Linked DNA regions of Homo sapiens: regions 1, 3, 4 and 5 are each linked to region 2. Evidence: promoter capture Hi-C in 16 types of primary human blood cells and fetal thymus (Javierre and others, 2016). All regions are on one chromosome and are shown on one strand. The core of a region is centred on a gene start or on the middle of the fragment in contact, and the rest is flanking DNA. Distances in the headings are between cores, read along the strand shown.

Evidence for each region. Contacts are between HindIII fragments. The CHiCAGO score rates a contact against its expected background, and 5 or more counts as called.
Region 1: a contact is called between a fragment that was not itself captured here and the fragment with the promoter of RAMAC in region 2, in 1 of 17 cell types (erythroblasts). The highest score is 5.3, in erythroblasts.
Region 3: a contact is called between a fragment that was not itself captured here and the fragment with the promoter of RAMAC in region 2, in 1 of 17 cell types (neutrophils). The highest score is 5.6, in neutrophils.
Region 4: a contact is called between a fragment that was not itself captured here and the fragment with the promoter of RAMAC in region 2, in 13 of 17 cell types (total B cells, total CD8 T cells, non-activated CD4 T cells and 10 more). The highest score is 10.4, in total B cells.
Region 5: a fragment that was not itself captured here is called in contact with the fragment with the promoter of RAMAC in region 2 in 17 of 17 cell types (megakaryocytes, M2 macrophages, M0 macrophages and 14 more); the score reaches 36.7 in megakaryocytes.

Annotation. Positions count from the first base shown.
Region 1 is chr15:83,194,762-83,199,824 of GRCh38, reverse strand. The region is part of intron 1 of HDGFL3 (HDGF like 3); the gene reads left to right. Among named protein-coding and RNA genes, the nearest start is that of HDGFL3, 11 kb to the left of the region's middle. The HindIII fragment of the contact is 4,252 bases long and covers 1-3,538 here.
Region 2 is chr15:82,983,925-82,988,629 of GRCh38, reverse strand. It overlaps RAMAC (RNA guanine-7 methyltransferase activating subunit), which reads right to left and starts at 2,420. Exons shown (of 4, transcript NM_031452.4): 1 at 2,261-2,420; 2 at 1,246-1,294. It also overlaps a transcript of HOMER2 not described here. The HindIII fragment of the contact is 1,767 bases long and covers 1,238-3,004 here.
Region 3 is chr15:83,117,617-83,122,729 of GRCh38, reverse strand. TM6SF1 (transmembrane 6 superfamily member 1) reads right to left here. Exons shown (of 10, transcript NM_023003.5): 4 at 3,049-3,152; 5 at 727-809. It also overlaps a transcript of HDGFL3 not described here. Among named protein-coding and RNA genes, the nearest start is that of TM6SF1, 13 kb to the right of the region's middle. The HindIII fragment of the contact is 2,076 bases long and covers 625-2,700 here.
Region 4 is chr15:82,738,945-82,743,601 of GRCh38, reverse strand. It overlaps the pseudogene ACTG1P17. Among named protein-coding and RNA genes, the nearest start is that of SNHG21, 9.3 kb to the left of the region's middle. The HindIII fragment of the contact is 255 bases long and covers 1,301-1,555 here.
Region 5 is chr15:82,844,138-82,849,508 of GRCh38, reverse strand. HOMER2 (homer scaffold protein 2) reads left to right here. Exons shown (of 9, transcript NM_004839.4): 9 at 1-526. Among named protein-coding and RNA genes, the nearest start is that of WHAMM, 37 kb to the right of the region's middle. The HindIII fragment of the contact is 1,426 bases long and covers 2,518-3,943 here.

The DNA.
Region 1 (5,063 bases), core at 163-2,662, 210 kb before region 2:
GTGATCCACCCGCCTCGGCCTCCCAAAGTGCTGGGATTACAGGTGTGAGCCCCTGCACCTGGCTTGTGATAGGCCATTTCTGGAAGTTCCACAGAGCTTCAGGATTTGGGGACAAGATAAACTGGACCACATTAACATACAAAAAGGGTCTAAGAATAAACTATTCTTCTCATTTGATCATTGAAACTCATATTCTGAATAGATTCTCTAAGTCTGAATATAGAGTCTATACAGCTACCCAGAAGTAGAGGTGTCAGTGTAGGGGAGTCAGTGGTAGCTGCCAGGTTGCCTGTATGGGGACTGGAAAATTTCTGATCACATAGTAATAACTTCTCAGTTTCTATTGCAAAATACGAGATGAGAGTGGTTTTAAGTGATAGTTTCAGTAGTGGTTAGCACATATAAAAATGAGTTTCACAGAAGATTAAGGATTTTTTATGATGTAGACAGGTCAGAAAATAAACTCAACTTCAGATCTCTATTTCCTTTTCCTTTGACACTGAAGTAGTACTTTATTATTAATAACATGTTTGATCTTGGAGGAAATGCTTGTTCAGAGGGAGTAGTAGTATAAATTCTCAGTTAATGCTTTTAGAGTTACCATATGTTGAATGGATTGAAAATTCCCTCTAGACCACTATTTGATGTTCCAAATGAAACCAACTAATTTAAAACAAGTTATAACTTCTCTTATCTCCTTCCCTGGACTACTACATGATGATGAAGTCAATAATTTTGAAAAAAATATTTAGACTTTGGAAATGAGTTGTTGTTGCTGATTGATTGCAGTCTAACGGCTTTCAGGTTTTTTGACTGTAACCTACAGTGAGAAATAAATATTAATTCCCATCCCAGTACGTGCACATGCATGCACACACACACTGCTGAGATTTTTATATGATCCGTTTGTCCCCTCCAAAACTCATGTTGAAATTTTATCCCCAGTGTGGTGGTGTTGGGAGGTGGGTTCTAGCGAGAGGTGTTTGGGTACTGTTGCTGGTCCTGTGGTAGTGAGTTCTCCCTCTCTGGAGACTAGATTAGTTCTCTGAGAATAGATTAGTTCTTGCAAGAGTGAGTTATAAAGCAAGTTTCTTCCTCCTGTTTGGTTGCTTTTCACGTGTCCACTTTCCCTTTGACCTTCTTTGCCATGTTTTGAGTTAGCACGTGGCCCTTACCAGAAGCTGAGCAGATGCTGGTACCATGCTTATACTTTCCAGCCTGCAGAACCATGAGCTAAATAAAGCCTGTTTTCTTTATAAATTACCCAGCCTCATTTATTCTGTTACAGCAACCCAAAATGGACTAAGATGCACCTATAACAAAAAAATTTTCAAGTTGTACTTACTATATGTGATACATTCTGATATTTTTATATTTCATTTTATGTAAAGTCAGGTTGCAACCTGCTAAATGAGTTTCATTACCTACAGTTTGAAAAACACTGGTCTGGTCAGTAGGCCAAAGGGAAAGTAATCTCTGTGAGTTGTATGCGTTTATATAGAACAGAAGTTGGATTTTTGAGAGGATGATTTGTTAACAGTCCTGAGCTTTTTATTCTGCTGTAGCCACAGTCTTACATGAAGGTCACACGAACATAAATTAAAGCAATAGTGTATTAGGTCATTGAACTATCCAGGCCAATATGTCCCCTGATCCCAAAAGGTTAGTTATATAGATTTTAATTCTCATCTTCCTTTTAATCTTTCAACTGCAAATGTATCAACAACTATATATATAATTAATTGGCTTCTTTTTTTTTTTTTTTTTTTTGAGACGGAGTCTCTCTCTGTCACCCCAGGCTGGAGTGCAGTAGTGTGTTCTTGGCTCACTGCAAGCTCTACCACCCTCCTCATCACCCCCTCCCCGCCGCCCCCAGGTTCTCCTGCCTCAGCCTCCCAATTAGCTGGGATTACAGGCGCACACCACCACACCCGGCTAATTTTTTAGATGTTTAGTAGAGATGGGGTTTTGCCATGTTGGGCAGGCTGGTCTCGAACTCCCAAAGTGCTGGGATTACAGGCGTGAGCCACCGTGCCCGGCCTATAATTGACTTCTTAAAGGTAGTAAGTTCCACACGTTTGCTGACTACCGAGTTATATACAGTGTTTGACAAACTAGTGTTCCGTGGCTGATGATATTGAGGCTGTGGAGTTTTCCTGGTTTGTGGGACTAGACTGTGGAGGTATCAAGCTATGACTGAAGATGATGAGCTTTTGTGAAGTTCAGAAACTTGAAGATAGGGCAGGTTTGTGGTACCCTTTAAAGTGGATGTAAAGTTTTTGCGATTAACATGTTTCTAATGGTTTTGTATTTCCTTTTTAATTATTTTGTCCTATCAAAAAGAGATTGCCTTGCTACTGTGAGATATAGCAATCTGAGTAGAGAGAACCTGGTATTGATGATAGGAAGGCATTCTTCAATTTTTTAAAAGAAACATTTCTGAAAAGTTACTGTAAGCACAGTTTTATGTCTTACATCTGGCTCACTGACTCACATAAAATATGTAAAATGTTATTAGAAACAGACCCACTATACTATTATAAATGGAAATATTTTGAAGTAAAAGAAATAAGATTAGATTAAATTTTATGATATGCCAGGTGTTCAAGAACTCTGGCTGTTCTCCAGCTCAGCACTGACCCTATCTTATGCTATGTGTGATGTCAGGGGAAGGACAAAGCCTTTGGTAGAGTTATGAAATATCATGGTCTCCATTCTTCGTTTTGAGTACACTCCTGGGATAAAGATTTATTTAACTACAAAGGATCAGGTAACCCAGAACAAATGTGTCCCTTATTTTTATATTGTAAAAGCAAATGACAAAAGTAGTGCAGCTTAACAAGAGTGGGCATGCCCTAGGTCAGCTCCTTGTACATCTTCCTCAGATGTTAGTAGATACATTTACTATTCTCTTCCAGCCTTTCCCCCTCATTTTCAGCAAATTGTTTTACCTTCATACTTCATAGAGAAAATAGATGCCAACAGGCTTTAACTGCACCTTCCTATCTTTTGCTTATAAATGAAAATCATCTCTCTCTAACCTTCTCTAATCCTCTTGGATTTTTGTTTCCCCCTTTTTTGTTAATCAATTCTATTTTTTTCTCTAAATCATTAATTTCTGATCTCATCTTCACTACCTTTCCCCAAGTATATTTTTCTTTTCTTCTATTTCAAACTTAATGAAATAAAGTCTTATTTAATTTTTTTGAAATCTTTTTGAAAATGAAAACTTTTAAAGCTAGTTTTCCTCAGGTCATATTTGGCTTCATGATGTAGATTTGAATAATTGGTGTTTTATAGTCATTTTCAAAATAGGTTTTGTGATTTTCATTTCTGAGTTGGCCCAAGAGATATTTAGGAGAGAATTTTAGGAATTATAACTGGCTAAAGAGTTTGTATGTAATGCTTTATTGTTTTTTAATATGGTTATCTTGTAGTCAGATTATGTATCCTTTTTAACTATTTTAATTCATTTAGTGTTCTTTTCATATGTGATCAACTTTTAAAAAATGGTTTTTGTATTCCTGAAAAGAAAGCTTCTTTAGGAGTCAATAAGTATATTGACTTAATAAATGAGTCAATAAGTATATTGACTTAATAAATAAGTCAATAAATATAATGGACAAATATAAATATATTGATATTTACTAATATATTTTTTAAAATTCTTAATGTTTATTTTTTGTCAACTACTCTCTCCAAAATGAAGAGGTATATAAATCTAACATATCTATTATATTTCTACATATCTGTCCCTTTTTTTGACCGTTTATTTAATAAATGTCAGGGCTTTATTTGGCACATAAATGTGTATAACTTGTAACTTCAGGATGGAGTCAAAATATAGTGATCTGCTATTTCATACTTTCTAGCACATAAGTTATAGTACTTCGTTGGATATTAGTTTTGTAACCTGTTTTCATTTTTGCTTTTATTTCACTAATACATCTTTATCCAGAATTTTACTCAAAACTTTTCTGTTTTGTTTTAAGATATAAGTATATGTAACTTAATTTTTTTAACCATTCCTAGGAGATTTTTTTCCCTTTTTTCATTCTTTGCCAAATTTTGTAAGAACCTGGTTTTCAGCATTTAAGCATATAACATTCTTAATTTCTGTCATTGAAACTTTTACTTTTTAAATTTTCAGTTATTTCCATGTGAAGGTAGAACTACGTGAATTGGGTAACATTAATGTTCTACCATTATAATCTCATTAGGTGTTTATTGAGTATCTCTTCTGGGTTAGTAACTGTGATAGACTTAGCATTATAAAAATTAATAAGACATGATTTTAACATTAAAGAGCTTGAGATAGATTAAGGAACAGAAACATGTACATAGAGGAATACAAGTGCAATATATGTAGATCTCGATGACAATATTTTTCTTTTATTTTTTTAAAAAGACACATTTATTCAGTATCATGATCAGACTATTACATTTAGCAATCAACAGCATGGGTGCAAAAAAAAATCTACATTAAAAAACCTTTGTTGGAATGTTTTACACTTTCCACATAACAGAAACTAAAATAACCTGTTATACAATTAGTCACAAATACAATCCTCAAGTTTTTTGCCCAATATTTGTCTGAAACATGATGACAGGATTTTTCTATCTTTGCAATTAGACTAAATGAACAAGAATGAGCCAAAACTGACTAAGAAAGAGCGTGGAAAAGAGAATACATGGAGACATTTTTAATTGGCAATTTATTACAAAAAGACTGGGTTTCAGCTTTTTTTGTCATACGATATTGAAATGTAGTTTTTGGAACTGTCTACATTATTTGTAATACAACTATATAGTCTTACCATTAGAAAGAGATAACACTGCATCCTGAGTGAGCCCTCCTTTACATTTTGTTCTATTGCTTTTTCCTTCCCTGCAGGCAATTTCAAAGTCTTTAATGAAAATTTAAATGATAGTACCTTCTGAGACATAAGATTTAAGATGATTTTCAGTGTTGTTTTCGAAGGGATGAGAAAGCTAAAATGCATTAATCTCTTTTACCAACTGACTTGCTCAGTTACAGAGCAAGTAAGTGGAAGGGAGCTGCA
Region 2 (4,705 bases), core at 1,171-3,670:
TTGGGCTTCGGTGATCCTCCTGCCTTGGCTTCCCAAAGTGCTGGGATTACAGGCATGAGCCACTGTGCCTGGCCCGAATTATTTTTCTTACTTTATTAACTTCCAATAAAAGGTTTGGGACAAAAAGATGTGACAATGGAAGCTATTGTGATAACTTCTTCATTAGTCTGCCTTTCCTCCAAACATATGCAAATATTTGTAACATTTATACTACCTACTTTAACCCCAACAAAATTAAACGGAAATTATTGTTGCATTGCAAGAAACAATATGTAGATTTTTTCTTTTTCCTTTTCCCCCAGACGGAGTCTTGCTCTGTCACCCAGAGTTGGAGTGCAATGGCGCGATCTCAGCACACTGCAACCTCTGCCTCCCAGGTTCAAGCAATTCTCCTGCCTCAGCCTCCCAAGTAGCTGGGATTACAGGCACGCGCCACCACACCCAGCTAATTTTTGCATTTTTAGTAGAGATGGGGTTTTGTTGGCCAGGCGGGTCTTGAACTCCTGACCTCATAATCCGCCCGCTTTGGCCTCCCAAAGTCCTGGGATTACAGGTATGAGCCACTGCGCCCAGCCTTTTTTTTTTTTTTTTTTTGAGACGGAGTTTCACTCTTGTTGCCCAGGCTAGAGTGCAATGGCGCGATCTCGGCTCACTGCAATCTCTGCCTCTCGAATTCAAGTGATTCTCCTGTCTCTGCCTCCCGAATAGCTGGGATTACAGGTGCACGCCCGCTCGCTAATTTTTGTATTTTTAGTAGAGACAGGGTTTCATCATGTTGGCCAGGCTGATCTTGAACTCCTGACCTCAGGTGATCTGCCTGCCTCAGCCTCCCAAAGTACTGGGATAACAGGCATAAGCCACCGCGCCCAGCCTGACACTCTTATCTTTCAGGCTATTGCTCTTAGTATGCTTTATCAAATACCAAATATCAGACTTTCAATGTGTCTGGGATTGGCAAACTATATCAAATTCTCAAATCCAAGGAATGAGTTTTAAATAAATTCAGCTAATTAAAAATCATGTCTAGAATTCTAGTGGGATCACAGAAATCACTAAAAAGATGACCCATACCTAATCCAGATGGGCAGTAAAAATCATAAGGCAAGGAAAAGGTGCTACTCCATTTTTATGTTCTCATATGTTCTCCCACGACTCCCCACCCATACTCATGTAAACAAATATCAACTGTATTATTACTGAGAACGAAATTTAAATAGAATGTTAATCGACCCAAGCTTTACTTACCCCAAAGGTTTGAGGCAGCTGTACTGCTTAATGTTTAGGTTGTTTAAATCTGTGGGAGGAAAAAAACAAACTTGACTTTATTTAAGGAAACTCTCAAAAGGTGTTTGTAGGGGAGGGTGGCGCATAAGAGTCTTATTCAAGGAAAGAATTGGAGTAAAAGTGCTCTAAGGCCAGGCGCGGTGGCTCACCTCTGTAATCCCAACACTTTGGGAGGCCGAGGCGGGCAGATCACGAAGTCAAGAGATCGAGACCAGCCTGGCTAACACGGTGAAACCTCGTCTCTCCTAAAAATAGAAAAAATTAGCCAGGCGTGGTGGCATGTGCCTGTAGTCCCAGCTACTCGGGAGGCTGAGGCAGGAGAATCGCTTGAACTTGGGAGGCGGAGATCGCGCCACTGCACTCCAGCCTGGGCGACAGAGCGAGACTCCGTCTCAAAAAAAAAACAAAAAACAAACCAAAAAAACGCTCTAAAGACTTCCAAAGCTAATATTCCAAAGAGGGAACTGGTTCTCAAGAGCAAGAAGCTACAAGATTTGTCCTCTGGGCCTTCAAAAGCAAAATAGTTCAAGTATGAATACAAACTTCATAAAGTATGTATGTTCTTTTAGGGTAAGCCTTTCAGATTTGTACTTGAATACTGCTAATTTATTCACCACAAATAAAACCACAAAGAACTTTGGCTGCGGGCGACTAACCCTGGAAATAACCAACCAGAATGGGGTTTCGCTGCCCTGGGAGGTGAGCCCGGGGAACAGACGAAGATGCAGACTGAAAACAACTGCGTTTTCCAGTCCGTCCTCAAGGCACATCACAGCTTGCTTACCAAGGTTCTGGCAGATTTGCTCCCTTCCGAAGCACCTTATACCTCCAGAAGTGAGGGAAATTATGGGCCGTGAGAAGTAAACGGGCTTCGGTCTAGCAAAGAGTACAGATCACCGCACAGGGGGAGGACACCTCGCTGGCCACCCAGCTCGGCCGCCCCGCTCCCTCCTCCCGGGCGTCCGGGGCGACTCACCCGCCAAGGGCTATGTCAATCCAGCTCAGGCCGAACCCCGCCGGCGAGACACTGAGAAGCCCAGGAGAGGTGGCCTCTGGTCCACTACACCGTGGAACTCCAGACCACTCCAGTTCTCCAATGTAACCGAGCGCCTTCCTCTAAAATCCGACAACCACCTGACTTCCGCTTCCGGCGGGCTAAAGTTGAGGGTGCCTGTCAAGTCTCGCGATAACTAAGGCTCTCCGTGTGGATCGCTTTGCAACAGATCGCTTCTTCAAATGCTGGCACAACGCCCAGAGCTCGATGAGGTGTGGGCAAGTAGCTGTCTAAAGGTGGATGATGCCCTCCATGCACTTTCAGCCTGCCTGGTGGCTGGGCAGTCGAAAACGTCGCCGTCTATTAAGCTCCTTTGATTGGGAGCAGGTGACGGGTAGAGACGGAAGTTCTGGGAATCACCGGAGAAGGGAGGGAAGGGCTCCTTCCGGCCGCCTGCTCCCGGAGTCTTCGTGGGGAACGTGAGGTGAGAGCAGGCGGTGAAGAGTAGACACGACTGATGACTTCAGGGATGCTACACCTTTCTCTCCTGCCTGGGCAAGCCTCGGTAGTAAGATTTCCGTAGTCCGTTTTGTATGTGGTTTTGCAGAAACATACCCCCTCTCTGCTCCAGCTTCAGTCGTCAGTATCCAGCTACTTCCAAGAGTCTTGCCCATGTCTTGTGGGATGTTCAGCAAATGTATAAACACTTAATATCCCGACAAAGCTTGGCCTCTTCCCTCCCAAATTACTTCCCAGGCTATGCACCCGTTTTTGTTAATACAACCAACTTGGAAACTTTGATGTCAGATTTGATGCCCTTTCTTGCCTTTCCATGCTCCAATCACTTGCCAAGTCCTGTCGATTGTACCCCTACAGTAATTCTTGCATCTTCTTACCCACTGCCCCCACCTAATCAACGTTCTCATTACCATCCCCTGCACGGTGTCAGTGCAGTACCTTTCTCATTGATGTCCTGCCTCTAGCATCACTCTGCTACTAGCCTATCTTACATATACCTGCTATAGGTGTAGCCATCTTCAAGCACCACCGTGATCCAAAATAGCTGATCCAATGGCTCTCTGTTGCCTGTAGATTAAAGGTCAAGTTTATTAACTTGGATTCAAAACTTTTTTTATTTTCTGCTGTTCCCCTTCCATTCTCCCTCAGTCAGTGGTAAACCAGACCCTGTGAAGTACGTCATGCATAAATTATTACATTTTTATAGATTGCTCATGTCCCTTGCATGAAATACCTGTCTCTCCCCCTCATCTCCAAATGTTGAAATTCTTTCCATTATTTAAAGCTTTAGAAAGTGACATCTCTACCTAGAAATAATTTTTCTTTCTATTGAGAGTCCATCATATTTCTGGAATTTCATGTATTTAGTTATTACCACTTTCTAACTTCGAACTAAAATTATTTACTTGCAAGTCTTTCCCCCTATTAAACTGTAAACAGGCCTTTATCTAATGCATTTCTACATTCTGGAGTGTATAACATTGTGCTTTTTTTGTTTGTTTGTTTGTTTGTTTCTTTGACACAGGGTCTCATTCTGTTGCCCAGGCTGGAGTGCAGTGACGTGGTCATGGCATACTGCAGCCTCGACTTCCTGGGCTCAGGCGATCCTCTCAGCTCAGCCTCCGGAGAGCTGGGACTACAGGTGCACACCACCACCCTGCTAATTTTTTGTATTTTTTGTAGAGATGGAATTTTGCAGTATTGCCCAGTCTGGTCTCGAACTCTGGGCTCAAGCAGTCCACCCACCTCAGCCTCCCAAAGGGCTGGGATTACAGGCCTGAGCCGTGGAGCCCAGCCCCACATTGTGCTTTTTCCATGACGTTAGCACTGAATAAATGTTTGTGGAATGAATGATAGAACTATGAATATTCCAAGTAATGTTTTAGAAACATTAACCTAGCAAAAGTATATAGGATAGTATGGATGAGGGAATAGGATAGTCTTGGTGTTGGGTAGTAAAGGTAAGAGGTGTAACAACCAAGGTTACAATAATTGAATAAAAGGCCGGGTGCGGTGGCTCACGCCTGTAATCCCAGCACTTTGGGAGGTCGAGGCGGGTGGATCATGAGGTCAGGAGATCAAGACCATCCTGGCTAACACGGTGAAACCCTGTCTCTACTAAGTATACATAAAATTAGCTGGGCGTGGTGGCCGGCGCCTGTAGTCCTAGCTACTCGGGAGGCTGAGGCAGGAGAATGGCGTGAACCCAGGAGGCGGAGCTTGCAGTGAGCAGAGATTGCGCCACTGCACTCCAGCCTGGGTGACAGAGCAAGACTCCGTCTCAAAAAAAAAAAAAAATAATAATAATAATTGAATAGTACTATTCTGGAGCTCCAGTAGTGCAATTGGTTAGCGCGCTATAGTGCGCTAAATAGTAAATAGTACTATACTTAGTTACTGAGTGGATTA
Region 3 (5,113 bases), core at 413-2,912, 130 kb before region 2:
GTTACCAAAAGCATATCTAACACAAGTAATATTTAGGATACCTCCCCATCTCAGGTCATCTAAAATTTTGCTATGGGCCAGACAATATTTTTAATGAGGCCAAATTAAAAAGGTCAATTTAAAATACTAGATGTGTATTAACAGGCATGTCCTATCTACAGTAATCTGCTTGAGCCCAGGAGATCAAGGCTGCAGTGAGCTATGGCTGTACCACTGCAAGCCAGCCTGGGCAACAGAGTGAGATCCTGTCTCAAAAAATACATCTAGATAGGTATCTATATATGTTTGTATATATCTATCTCCCTATATCTATATCTATCTATCTATCTATCTACCTATATATCCTGATTTCCTGCATACATTAATAATGTACTTGTAATTTCCAAGTACATTTTTGGAGTTCTCATAGTGTGTCAGGAGTTAACATATTTGCACACTAAATATAGCCATAAACACCATACTCACTCCCTCAAGATCCTTCTAAAAAAACAGGAATCCCTGATAACTTGACTGCCAAATTGTTCAATGCACACATCTGAAAATTGCTCAAAGCACTTCTTAAAAAGTACTTTTTTTAAAGGTGAGAAAAAGGAATTATTCTGCAAAACAGGTTTTTAGTAAGCTTGGAATCACTTGGTTCTATTATAACTAAAAGAGCTTCTCTATTTAAAAACAAGCCCCATTGTTTTAGAAAAGGAAAGTGAACTTTAAGATAAAGTTTCTTACCTACAATGTTTCCTGGCACAAAAACAACAACACTCATAATAATAGATCCAACCCAATATAGGCCAATGGTTCTATAAGTTTCCCTGTAACAACAACAACAAAAAAATCTTGACTTGGTATGTTTGTCTTAGAATACTAAGCAAAAAATGATCTTCAATATTATTTTGTATTCAAACTAGTAAAGTACATCAATCAAAACATATTGAATTGAGAGGAATAAATCAAACACAAGGAGCCCTGGTTATGTAACTTCATTGCCATGTGATATACTATAGAACCTTCTTCGTGTCCTTTTAAATAGGAAATTACGCCTGCTATGTCTTCTGTTAAACTACAACATGATCATCCCTGCCACAGGACTCCTGCATTTCCCTATTGTGTGTGAAACTCAACAGCATGAAAGGAAAAAGAAAGTTGAAAGAAGAAATGAAATTGGATCCATATTTTTAATCATTATAAGTATGAGTTATACTTACAATGATAATGTTAAATGGACTTTTTCTGGGGTCACAGAATTTTGGCCAAAGCCCCAAAGGTGAAGACAAGTGACATGTACCCCATGTTGCAAAGGAGCTGCTAGACATATACCCCAAATCTTCAATGCTGACAAAAACTTCCTTCAGGCCGAGCATGGTGGCTCATGCCTGTAATCCCAGCACTTTGAGAAGCTGAGGTGGGCAGATCACTTGAGGTCAGGAGTTTGAAACCAGCCTGGCCAACATGGTGAAACGCCATCTCTACTAAAAGTACAAAAAAAAAAAAAAAATTAGCTGGGCATGGTGGCATGCACCTGTAATTCCAGCTACTTGGGAGGCTGAGGCAGGAGAAATGGTTGAACCTGGGAGGCAGAGGTTACAGCGAGCCAAGATCGCACCACTGCACTCCAGCCTGGGTGACAGAGCGAGACTCCGTCTCAAAATAAAAAAAAAAAGTTCCTTCAATTGATAACCCCAATAACCCAAACTCCACACTATGTAACAGGCTATGAGAAATTCAAAAGGAAATTCTCTGAAGGGAAACGAGAATACTGTGTGCGTCCTGCCCCACCCCCGCCCTCAAGCCAAATGTAACCAGACCCCAAGAGGCCCATTCATAATGACTGGGATTATAAGCAGGAGAACAGATAAGAATGAGCTGGAGCCGGGCACGGTGGTTCACGCCTGTAATCCCAGCACTTTGGGAGGCTGAGGCGGGCAGATCACCAGAGGTCAGGAGTTTGAGACCAGCCTGGCCAACATGGTGAAAAAAATGTTTAGATTTGTGTACTAAAAATACAAAATTTGCGGGTATAGTGACACACGCCTGTAGTCCCAGCTGAGGCCTGAGAATCGCTTGAACCTGGGAGGCGGAGATTGCAGTGAGCTGAGATTGTGCCATTGCACTCCAGCCTGTCTCAAAAAAAAAAAAAAAAAAAAAGAATTAGCTGGAGCTGACCTTGAGTGCATGTTGGGAGTGAGGGAGATACTTGGGTAAACTACATTTCAACCTTGTATGGGGCAAGAATGCATGACTTTCTGTAACCCAGAAGCAAGTGGAGGCCTGAGAAGATGGCCGGACTTGAAATGTTTTGAAAAGACCCCTCCCCAAAGGGTGTACCTTCTGGGTTACAGGGGCCCCAGCAGAAAAAAAGCTGTGGGTGTGCCACCATGGGCAGAAATTCAGCCCAAGAGCACGTCGTTCACTTCAGGGATTAGTGCAATGCAGAAGCTCCTGTGGTTGGGGTCTCTAAAGAACTCACATGTGTGCCTCCCAAGACCAAGCTAGCATATCATGATGGGGGTACCAATACCCAAAAACCAGCACCTTTCACATCAGACTCGGCTCCTGTTCCTTTAATCCCTTGTACATACACATCCACTGCCAAGGGGCCAGCCGCAGAGTGAGACAGGAGGAGTGAACGGACAAGCCATGTAGCCAAGCCTTAGTGCGAGCCAAGCCGCAGAGCTGTGCCTGATCTGGGGAAGGACAGAAGCTTTGAACCGAAATGAGATTGCTGTTTGGAAATTTTGAAGTTTTGAAATGAAGTTTAAGATGTGCTTAGCTTTAATTGCTGAAAATAAAAATTATTCTTGTAAGACAACATAATCAGAAAGCTTAAAGGGTCTGCCCGAGCTGTCACCATGCTAGGGAGCAATTCAGAAGGACATATTCAAAAGGCAGTGGTACAAGGAGGATAAAGCCACGTCTGACGTGCACCCATGGAACTTATATTCATGTCCAGTATACCTGCTTGTGTATTTGCCTCTATGCATAACGTTTCCTTACATACCCGCTTATCGGTTGCTAAGGTGGCAAAGGCACACACCAGGTGAACTGACTTACTCCCATGCTATGGCTGCCACCATCACCAGGTACATCAGATAATGAGCAGAGCCATCCCAGTAGCAGATCATGTGCCCATATGCGGTGTTCAGATACGGTTCACCCTAAAGAAAGCATTAAAAAGAAGTCCACTTTAAATAAGACCTGTAAATGCAGAACATCAGACCTGTATTGCAAGTAAAATAAAACAGCAGAACTAACTTGTGTTCATCTGCTAAGATGAAACTATTTCTTCAAAATTGGTAGGAACATGAAAATACAACTTTACGCTGGAGCTGCCAAAACCAGGGTCTGGCCACAGAGGATGGAATTAGAGAATGCCTGGCCAATTGGCCCATGATGCATCAACATAGGTTTGTACTGTGATGCGAAGGCAGATGGCATGATAGGCAATCCTGGCTGTATGGCAAACTCATGGAGACCAAGCCAAATCTTTGACACAAGGTGCTTGGCAGTGACCAGAGAGGTGGCCAGGGATGACCCTGCTTTCCAGAACCAGTGGCTGGCCTTAATAATTCATGCTGATCCCGTGGCTTGCTGGGCTGGGCATGGCACAACACTCATTCCCCACATACTGACACATAGGCAGGCAGGCACCGAACTCGGAGCTTCACACCCAACCCCTCCTTCTACCTTCCCAACAACCCAGTGGGATGGACAGGATTGAGTCCATTTTACAGATGAGGAAACAGATGCTCTGAGATTACAAGACTTTCCTAAGGTCACGTAGCTAGTATACCTAGCAGAGACCAAGAAGAGCCATACTTCTCCTGGGCAAATGTTAATGTTATGAACACAAGATTATATGACGAACTACATTTCCCTTTTCTAGGTGGTTACATTTCCAGGTGGCTTCTAGAAAATCACTGTCATCAATTTTCCGTGCATTTTTACTGTTGTTTTGGCCCCACCTTGTTTTCCTTTCCTCTTTCTCCCACGTTCATGCTGTCCTGGCTTGTTTCACGCTGTAAGATGCCTTAAGTCCTTTCTACAACAAGGAAGAGTGCAGATCAACCAGCCCATCAATCAGCCAAGCAAGCAGGGCTTTCTCTTAAGCTTCATGCTCCCCTGGGGCAAGGACTGCTCTGTCATCTCTCCCACAGATCAAATCAAATTAAAATCAGAGAAGCAGGAAACAGAATCAAGGTTCTGCTTCTACACCCATGCCAGGCCCACGTCCCTTCTCTTGGACTTGCTCTGACTGAAGAATACATCCGATTTATGGTTTCAGACTTCCATTGCTAACACACCTGGCTCTCTGAGCCAGTGCTGGCCTCTCCTGGTAGCTTGATGAGCATCTTTAACTGCATGGTGCACAGGCCACAGGTCCTTTCAACTCGCCTGAACTCTTAATTCATCAGCTTCTCCCCTCAACCAGCCTTCCATCTTGCCTCTCTCTCTCTTGCTCTCTCTGTATGTGTGTGTGTGTGTGTGTGTGTGTGTGTGTGTGTACGTACAGAGACAGGGTCTCACTCTGTCACCCGGTCTAGAGTGCAGTGGTGATCATTGCTCACTGCAGTCTCAACTCCTGGCGTCAAGCGATCCTCCCGCCTTTGTCTTCCAAAGCACTGAGATTACAGGCATGAGCCACCAGGCCAGCCATGGCCTCTCTATATTAATGGTGAAACCATTCGGCTTACCAAGGTCAAAACCACATGGTCATTTTTTCATTCCTCATTCTCCTATGCAGTCTCTCAGCAAATCTATCAACTTTATTGCTACGATGTCACCCCGGCAATTCTCCCTCTTCTTCACAGCATTAGGTCTAGCCCTCAGTGTCCCTCACTGGACCACAGCTATGTTCCCAAATGGTCTCCCTACCTTTGTCCCCTCCTTCCAACCCATGACACTCCTCCTGCCAGATAAAGATTCTCAAGGCCTGGCTCTTGGCATGTTGTTCCTCTACTCTAAAACTCCCCAAAACTTGTCACAGCCTGCTGGACCAAGCCCCATCTCCTCTCTATCACAGCTGGGTCCCCAGAGCCTGGCCCTGCAGACCTTGCCACCACAGTTACACCCCAGTCCCCCTTCTGATACCCCGTCTGCCCCAATGCTTACCACCCTT
Region 4 (4,657 bases), core at 179-2,678, 240 kb after region 2:
GCCGGGCGTGGCATCATGCGCCTGTAGTCCCAGCTACTTGGGAAGCTGAAGCAGGAGAATTGCTTGAACCTGGGAGGTGGAGGTTGCAGTGAGCTGAGATCACGCCACTTCACTCCAGCCCAGGCAATGAAGTGAGACTCCATCTCAAAAAAAAAAAAAAAAAAGAAAAAAAAGGTTTCTGTTGATATATCATCATATATCATATCTTTCCTCACCATGTCCAGTCTATTAGCCCATCAAAGACATTCTTCATTTTCTATTCACAGTGTTTTTTATCTCTTGCATTTTTTTTGGTTCTTTTTTGTTTTTATTTTATTTTGTTTATTTATTTATTTTGGAGATAGAGCCTCACTGTTACCCAGGCTGGAATGCAGTGGCATGATCTCGGCTCACTGCAACCTCTGTTTCCTGGGTCTGGGTTCAAGAGATTCTTGTGCCTCAGCCTCACAAGAAGCTGGGACTACAGGCACGCACCACCACCCCCTGCTAATTTTTTTGTATTTTTAGTAGAGACAGGGTTTCGCCATGTTGCCCAGGCTGGTCTCGAACTCCTGAGCTCAGGCAATCTGCCCCACTTCGGCCTCCCAAAGTGTTAGGATTATAGGTGTAAGCCACTGCTCCCAGCGTCTTTTTGGTTCTTTCTTAGGATTTCCATCTCTCTGTTTACACTGACCATCTGTTCTTGCATGCTGTCTACTTTACCCATTAAAGCTGTTAGTATATTAATCAAAGTTGTTTAAAATTTCTTGTCTAATAATTCCAACATTCCTGCCATGTCTGGTTCTGATGCTTGCTCTGTCTCTTCAAAATGTGTGTTTTGCCTTTTAGTTTGCCTTGTAATTTTTTCTTCATAGCTGGACAGGATGTACCAGGGAAAAGGAACTGCTGCAAATAGGCCTTTAGTAATGTGGGGGTAAGGTGTGGGGAGAGGGAAAGTATTCCTCTATGAACCCTATGATTAGGTCTCAGTCTTTTAGTGAGCATGTGCTTCTGGAATGTGAACTTTACAAGTGCTTCTCAGTTTTTTTCTTCCCCCTTAGGTGGGACAAGATGGCCAGAGTGGGCTGGCGTTGGGCATTTTTCCCTTCTCCCAGGCCAGTTAGGCTCTGATAAAACTCCAGCCATTTAGGCTCTGATTAAATATTTCTCCCGAGGGCAGACTTTGTTAAGAACAGCATGCTCTGGCATGTTTCGAAATGGTTCTTTTTCTTCTTCTCCTGCTAGAAGCATGACAAGATTTTTCTCTAATATTTATTGTGAGAACCTGGTCAAACTCTTGGAGGTAAAACTCACAGAAGCTTGGGTTCTCCCTCCCCTGTTTCTGGTTTCTTCTGGAATTTTTGACTCTCAGACTTGTCTACACTTGCCTCTGGCAATTCAATTACAGTTCATGTTTTTCTGCCCTGGCATTGGTTCCTTTGTGGAGATTTCTGCTCTGGGTAGCTTGTGACTTTTGTACATACCTGTCTGCCTCTCCAATTTTGGGGATAGTGGTTTGCCCTGTGACCTCACTTTTCTTCTGGATTTAAGAAAAATTATGTCAGTTCGTTAAGCTTTTCTTTCTTTTTTTTTTTTCTGAGACAAAGTGTTGCTCTGTTGCCCAGGGTGGAGTGCAGTGGCGTGATCTCACCCATCTTTATTTCACATTGGAAGTATTCCTCAAATGTCTGGAGTGGGGGGGTCTTGACTGTTTATATTTTTTAATGAAGTAATAAGTGGATTACGAGCTCTCTTGTGTGGAACTTTTCTGATGGCCAAGATGATGGGACAGGAATGCTGACATTTTACTGTAATGGGTAGAATGCAGGGGATTTTCTACGGAGCCCTTAGATTTATTTCCAGAATAACGTTTCAGCGTGATGTGTGAATGTATGGGAAATTCTGGATGGTCTGTGTTCCTCCTATCACACCTTCACCCTGGGGGTAGATTCTTGGCTGTAAGGCATTCTGCATGCAGAGGTGGAAGGGAAGGAAAACTGTTTCATATGTGGAATCTTGGCCTTATATCTCATTCCTGTACTCAGTTGTCTCTGATATTTCCTGGTTCTGGACCCTTCTAGCATTCCGTAGTGTGAATTGTTTTTTTCCTGGGGTATATCTTCCACCCTCTGCAGTTTCTTCTGCTTCCCCCCCGCATCAGTATCATTCCTTCATCAGCTATCTTCCAAAATTTCTTTGAAATCTCTGATCTACTAATGATCTTTTCCCCATTCTCTTGTTTAGATCTTTATGTTTCTTTTCCCATTCTCTTATTTATATCTTTATGTCTCTTTTTATTTCTTAAGTATGATTTTAATGAAACTTAGGAGGGTGAGATGATAAATCATGTTTTCAATTTTAACAAGGCAAAAACAAGCTCATCAAGCATTCACTGGTTGGGCGCTGTGGCTCACACCTGTAATCTCAGCACTTTGGGAGGCCGAGGTAGGGCAGATTGCCTGAGCTCAGTAGTTCAAGACTAGCCTGGCCAACATGGTGAAACCCCATCTCTACTAAAAATACAAAAATTAGCCAGGCGTGGTGGCTCACGCCTGTAATCCCAGCACTTTGGGAGGCTGAGGTAGGGCAGATTGCCTGAGCTCAGGAGTTCAAGACCAGCCTGGCCAAGATGGTGAAACCCCATCTCTACTAAAAATACAAAAATTAGCCAGGTGTGGTGTTGGGCGCCTGTAATCCCAGCTACTCGGGAGGCTGAGGCAGGGAGAATGCTTGAACCCGGGAGGTGGAGGTTGCAGTGAGCCTAGATCGCACCACTGCGCTCCAGCCTGGGTGTCAGAGTGAGACTGTCTCAAAAAAAAAAAAAAAAAAGAAAAGAGTTCACTGATTAAATTATGGTCTATTCATACAGTAGAATACTAGACATTCATTTAAAATGATGCAAGCAGGCTGGGCGCGGAGGCTTACACCTGTAATCCCAGCACTTTGGGAGGCCGAGGCAGGTGGATCACCAGAGGTCAGGAGTTCGAGACCAGCCTGACCAACATGGAGAAACGCCATCTCTATTAAAAATACAAAATTAGCCAGGGGTGGTGACGCATGCCTGTAATCCCAGCTACTCGGGAGGCTGAGGCAGGAGAATTGCTTGAACCCAAGAGGCAGAGGTTGCGGTGAGCCGAGATTGTGCCATTGCACTCCAGCCTGGGCAACAAAAGTGAAACTCTGTCTCAAAAAAATAAATAAAATAAATAAAATGATGCAAGCAGCTGGGCACAGTGGCTCACACCTGTAATCCTAGCACTTTGGGAGGCCAAGGCAGGTGGATTGCCTGAGCTCAGAAGTTCGAGACCACCCTAGGGAACATGGTGAAACCCGGTCTCTATTAAAAATACAAAAAATTAGCCGGGTGTGGCGTTGTGCATCTGTAATCCTAGCTACTTAGGAGGCTGAGACAGGAGACTCGCTTGAACCCGGGAGGCAGAGGTTGCAGTGAGCCGAGATCACGCCATTGCACTCCAGCCTGGGTGACAGAGCAAGACTCCCTCTCAAAAAAAAAAAAAAAAAAGGCCACGCACGGTGGCTCACACCTGTAATCCCAGCACTTTGGGAGGCCAAGGTGGGCAGATCACTTGAGGTCGGGAGTTTGAGACCAGCCTGGCCAACATGGAGAAACCCCATCCCTAGTAAAAATACAGAAAATTAGCCAGGCATGGTGGCGCACGCCTGTAATCCCAGCTACTTGGGAGGCTGAGGCAGGAAAATTGCTTGAACCCAGGAGGCAGAGGTTGCGGTGAGCTGAGATCACACCATTGCACTCCAGCCTGGGCAACAAGAGTGAGACTCCATCTCAAAAATAAAAAAGATGGAAGCATGTATTTGTATTTTGAGCATCAATAACTAGGTAAGAGAAGTGCATTTTTAAAACCAATGAGTTATAAAAATTCAAATTAGATATATATACATGACTAAGGGGTAGGGGGGTCCAGTTGTAACAATGGCAAGTTCTAAGAGATAAAATCCTAAGGTCTTTGTTTTTATTTCTATGGACATCGCTGTGTCTTCTTGACTCTTTTATAAGTAGCATGTTTTTAATAATCAGAATATATATAAATCTATTTTTGAAGTAATATAATGACTAGCCTTGTACATACAATTTTGCATACATCTTGACTTCCTTAGAATTAGTACCCAGGTTTAACTTATTTAGTTAAAAGAATAAATTTTTTTGAAACTTTACATACCTATTTTCAAATTTCCTCTTCAGAAGAAGTGCAAATACATATTTACCAGCATGTTGGACAATGCCACTTCCCTAGGCCCTCACTGGAACTTTTTAAATCCTTAGCCAGTTTGATCAGTTAACACCTGTGGTTGCTTCTGACGAGTCATGTCTCATGTGATCAGCATTCAAGAAATTCCTCCTTTCAAACTGGCTGTCCATATTCTCCAAAGTTTTGTTTTTAGCTCTTTCTATTGTGAACGTTTATTGTCTGTCTGGTTTATCTTCTTATAAGCAGTTATCAAAAGAATCAGTTTAATTAATGTTTGGAGTACTTCTATACCCAGTCCATAAAAGTGTGACAACTCCTGAACTCAGTTAATCAGGTTTCAAAGTGATTTTTCCTGTGGTTGAGACAATATAGGGAGGGAATTAGGATTTGGGGATTTACAGTCAGACTGCCTGGGCTCAAATCCTAGCTCTGTGACAACTTACTGATTA
Region 5 (5,371 bases), core at 1,981-4,480, 140 kb after region 2:
AAGATTCTGACTCAGGAATCCAGAACTAGGTCTACCTTCAACATTTATGCAGTCAGGGCAGGGATGTTTATATCTTTCATAAGGGCTGTTGCAACCATATGAACTGAAAAAACACGCATTTTGTAATCCAAATATTGATATTCTTTACACCAAGCCATCAGGCTCCTTTTATCAAATAGCATTCAGAGTATTTGAATGTCCACCAGACACCAGCCCCGGGGGGCACAGAGAGAACAACATTCCTCTCTGTCAACATCGAGAGGCTTTAAAACAACTGTTTAGTGGAAACTTTCTGAGAGATGGAAAACAAGCTTCTGGTGGGTGCATTTTCTGGCCCGGAGTTGCCTGCATCCACGCTACTGCCCCCTGCCCCCCGCCCCCCCAGTTTGTACGGTTGCAACAGTGTTCCTTTTCTTGGTTTTAATTTCTGAGCAGATGATTGTGCTGTGGGAACAGCACACAGTGAGGGTGCCTAGCACAATGTCTGGCACAAAGTAGGTGCTTAATAAATATTTGTTCAATTAAATGTGTACACAGAATTTAGTGTTTTAATCAAACCCCACAGCAGAGCTGGGACCCTGTCGAATGATGCACCATCTTTGCTGTGCTGGGTAGTTAACAGACATGAATACCACTGTCTGGTCAAACCCAAGCTGGGGCTCGGGTGGCCCTGGGGCAGGGAGGGAGAAGGGGAAGCAGCAGGAGCTGGTCTCAGGCCCCTGGAGCCCATCCGTGATGCTCTGCCCCTGGGGCTCTCCAGACCCTCGAATCACCTTCTCCCCTAGGAATGGTGACCCAGGGATTCCAGGTATAGGGGCTGCCCAGGGCTTGGTACCTAGGGTAGGATTGTCTTATGGGTCTGGACAGCTGGGAAGAAATCACAGGCATTTCGGGGGGAGAGAGCAGCTCAGCTGACAAGCCTTGGCCCTCATGACAGAGGTGTTCCACCCAGCTCTGCGTCCTGCCTTTTTCAGTTTCTCCTAGGGAAGGGACTGCAGCCATAAACCTCTCCTCTCTCACAGAGCTGCTCAGTGGGGCCAGCGGGCCTGTGGGTGCTGTTGGCATCCTGCCCTGGGAGATTGCCCGTGTGTGGCAATAATGGCTTGAATCCCTGGCCCCACACATCTCTAAATGCCTTGAGCAGGGGGGAGGCTTTGGTGCCCCCTCACCCCTTTGAGAACCACCTAAGAGGACTACTCCTTCTAGAAACCTTCTCCCATGGACGTGGTTAGACTTTCTCCCTGCTGAATTTGGATTAATGAGCAAACAACCCGAGGAAGGAGGGAGATGGGGTCCGAACCCAGGTGCCCTGGGCCCCAAGGTGAACACGAGTCCTCCTGCTCTCCTTCCCTTCCCCTCACGGAGACGCCTCTCTGAGCTGGGGAGTCTTGTTTGGGATGTGGATGGAAGGGAAGGCTGGGCATCTGGAGCACCAAGGCACTTTTAGAGGAGCTCCCGCAAGGTGAGTGGGGGCTTTGGTTGAGTACATAGGGCTTTTGGCAGACAGGAAGTGGAAAGCGTGGCCAGCCATCTTTGTGATTCGGGGTAGTCTGCTGCTGGCCCTTCCCTTTCCCCAGAGCTCCAGACGGCTCTCAGGACAGTTGGTAGCAGCTCCCTCCTGGCTGCACCAGGAGACCAGAGAGCCGAGCTGGCTATGAGTCAGCCCCGTGGCCCAGCAGCGGGATAAGGGGATTCTCAAGCCAGCCTGGTCTGCCCAGCAGCAGGCTGGGTGTGTGGCTGCCTGGGAGCAGTGGACACTGGGTTCCAAACACCTTCCGCTGGGGTCTTCAGATGACCTCTGCCTTTATCAGGTGACTTATGAATCTAGAAAGAGCCCGCTTGACTGACAAGAGAATGCTCAGGTGACATGCATAGAATAGTTACTGAAGCCACTTGTACATTCTGATAGCAGTGACTTTAGAAAACTCCAGAAGTGGAGGTGTAGAAAATGTTGGAAGAGCCATTTCCACAGTGGGCTGCTGTGCAGTTGAGACCCATGATCCCAGTTCACCAAGCACTGAAGAGTGTGGTGAGCATCCTGTGGGCAGCAGGTGAGGAACTTGGATTCCTCCTGCTGTGTGTCCAGCTCTACAGCTGTTGCAACCCTGGAGCTAAGAGTAGTAAGGACTCCCTTAAAGGGAAAGGTAAGTTGGGCTTGGCCGTGAAAGCACAACAGCTTTTACAAAAGCACTGAACTTTCCATTCCTTCTGCTTTTCTCTGAAGATCTCAGTGTCTTTTCATTTACTTTCTTTTAAAATAGTGGCCCTGGAGCAACCTGGACGGTGTTCCCTTGAGCTGGTGTGACGTGCCCTCGTTTATTCTGACATCCAGCCCAGTCTCAGTACTGTTGTCATAACCTTACGCCAGACTCAGGCAGAATGTAAGCCATTCACTCGTGAGCATCGCAGCCGCTTGTGCTGCCTGGAAGCTGCAGGGCCAGGACTGCATTTTCAGTTTGCAATTGAGGTCTCCTGATTTTGGTGTTTCCAAGACTGGCTGCTATACCTTGATAAGCTTTCCTTCTGCCTCCATGAAACCTGGTGTCTAAAAAAGATCAACTAAAACTTGGAACCCTTTAACCAAGAGGACCTTTAAAAATAACCTTTCATTCCAGTCAAGACCCAGCTGGATGCATTTTAAAGTTGGGAGTGGCGAGGAAGCCTTCCTAGTGCCGCCCGGGGAATGTAAAACCACCAGAGCAACAGGTTGGGACAGTATGGTCAGGCCTTGGAGGGAAAGAGAACCAGTATCCACACAAGACCTCGAACTTGTGTGGCCCCTCAGTTTCATCTCTCCTGCCTGCCATCACATTAGACTTTAATTGGGTGAGAGAACAGGGCAGAGACTGTCACCTGCATTTTGCAGATGGGAAGTAGAGACAGAGAAAGTGACACGCCCAGGGTCACCCAGCGGTGACCAGCAGCGTGGACTCTGCATCCAGGTCTCCTGGACCTTGATGCAGTATCTTTTGAGACATGCCACTCTAGTCCCTTTGGTGACCCGTGGGTGCCAAGAGAAAATAATTCTTATATCCTGATAAGAGCATATTACAATTATATTATTTCAATATGTGTCCACAGCAAAGGACAGTTTACAAAAATGTGAATCCGAATGACATTTAGGAATGTTTGTTATAAATGATAAGTTCCACTTTGGAATGATTCTGGTTTTGCAGGAATCTTTCCAAGAAAGTTGGTTAAAATGATGTCTCTGCCTGTGAGGCCAGTTCTATGGAAAACAAACACACCCTGAGTTCTTTATTGATGGCTTTAGTGGAGGCAGAGCAGTATGTTCAAAACAAGTGGGAGGCCCTGAGATCGCAGGAATGGAAACAGAGTTCTGGCTGGGGGTGGCCTGTCCACTGCCCGCCCCTTCCTGGAGATGCACTCCTTTCTGGCTTTCTGGGGAGGGAGCAGCCTTGCTCAGTGGTGGGAGCAGCTTGAACGGGACCTGATCAACACCCAGGAAGACTGTGCACAGAGGGCAGTTGGTCTCCAGCCTGCAGGCTCCATGAGCACAGCCTTGATGGTGGTGGGCAGGCGCCTGCCTGCTGTGGACTACATTTGATGCAAAACATCAAGTAAAGGGTGGAGCGTAATACAGTGAATATGCCTCCCAGAAACATCATGCTCTGCCTATTTTAACAGGGCTCTTTTTCTTTAGAAAAGTCTCCTTCTCTATAGAAACCAGGGACAATTTTGGATGAGAGCCAACCACAGGACGCGCTGGGGACGTTATGGTGGGACCTCACATGTGGCCAGGTGCACCTTTGGGAAGAAGGCAGACGTGATGTGACTTAGCACAGGCACTCAAAAGAGGCAGCCACTGGTCTTTGCTAATATCCAGAAGTGGATTGTTTGTTCCATTCATCCTTCTAGAAGCTAAATTCTTTCATTGCCTTGAGACATCACTAGATTTTGAAGCACTTGCAAACTAGAAGCTTGCAAGATCAATGTCCATGTATATTTTTAAAGATATGCATGCTTTAAAAGGACCCTAATTTCTGAGTACATGGCTTCCCCAAAGAAACAGTATATATTCTGGAGATGATGGGGGTTTTGGCATGGAGAGGGACTCCTGTCTAGTCTAGAAAATGTTACTTACATGCCTCTTCCATGTACCGATCTCAAGAATATGGGTTTTCTAGTTGGCTTTAAACACTACCCAGGCAGGAAGGTGGCTTTGGTAAGAATTTTGAGCTGGATGAAATGTTCTAGTGAACTTACGACTGTGTATGTGCGCACGCGTGTGTGTGTGTGTGTGTGTGTGTGTGTGTGTGTGTGTGTGTGAAGAAACAGCAAAAGGGGAAGTGGGAGAAACAGTAAGGAAGCGTTTTTAATTAAAAATATGTATACCTAAGAGGAGACTTTATTTTCTATTTCTGGTGGTGGTGATCTATGTTCTGGAATCCATTTACCAGAAGTTTGTGGATCTTTTGTTTGAAGTGGAATTGTTCAGTGCCCTACTCTCTTTGACGGTGCAGAGCCTTGCGGCAAAGTGTTCTCCTGGGCCCTAGAGACCCCCAGGGCACCTGGCAGGAGCCCGTAAACCACGGCAGAGTCCCAAGTGGTGCATGTTTTGGCGAGTGATGGGCAGGACTGATGATTCACAGCTGTGAGGCTGTGCTATTGTTTTTACCCTCTTGTACTGCTTTTAATAGGAAGTCCCGACTTTACGTCAGTTGTGAGAGCAGCGTCTTATGATGTGACAGGCAAGAAGACATTCCTTGCATCAAATATAAGAGTTTAATGAGAAGAGTGGAGTGGATAAGTGAACTCTCCCAAGAGTACTGTTTTTTGTTTCCCTTTTTAAATGCTTTCTTGGTACATAAATAATATAATACTTTTTTTAAAGAAATTCCAGATGAGTGGGAAAAAAACCAATCACCTGTTATTACACTATCTGATTATAACCACTGTTAACATTTCAGTTTTTATCTTTTCAGACTTTTTTCTATGCATCTGTGTGTGTTTTATTACTTTTTCCATGAAATATAATCATATTATACATACTGTTTTATAACTTTTATCCCTTTTAATGCTATATTGTGAATAGATTTCTATATCAGTAAATATGTAATTACATTATTTTTAACCTCTATGTAGGTTGTACCTTGGATACTTAGGTTGTTTCCAATTTTTTTACTGTTGTAGTCAAGGACATAATGAAGTTCTTCTAACATCCTTGCGAACTTTTCAGAATATTGACTTAGGGTAATTTTCTGAAGTTATCACTGGCTCAAAAGTACGCGCCTCCCTATCTGCGGCTCCTTTCCTTCTGAGGCATACAGGACTTCACCCTCCATCCCCCTTGTACTCATTCAGGGTCCTATGACTAATTCTGGCCAATGAAATGTGAGCACAGGTGACA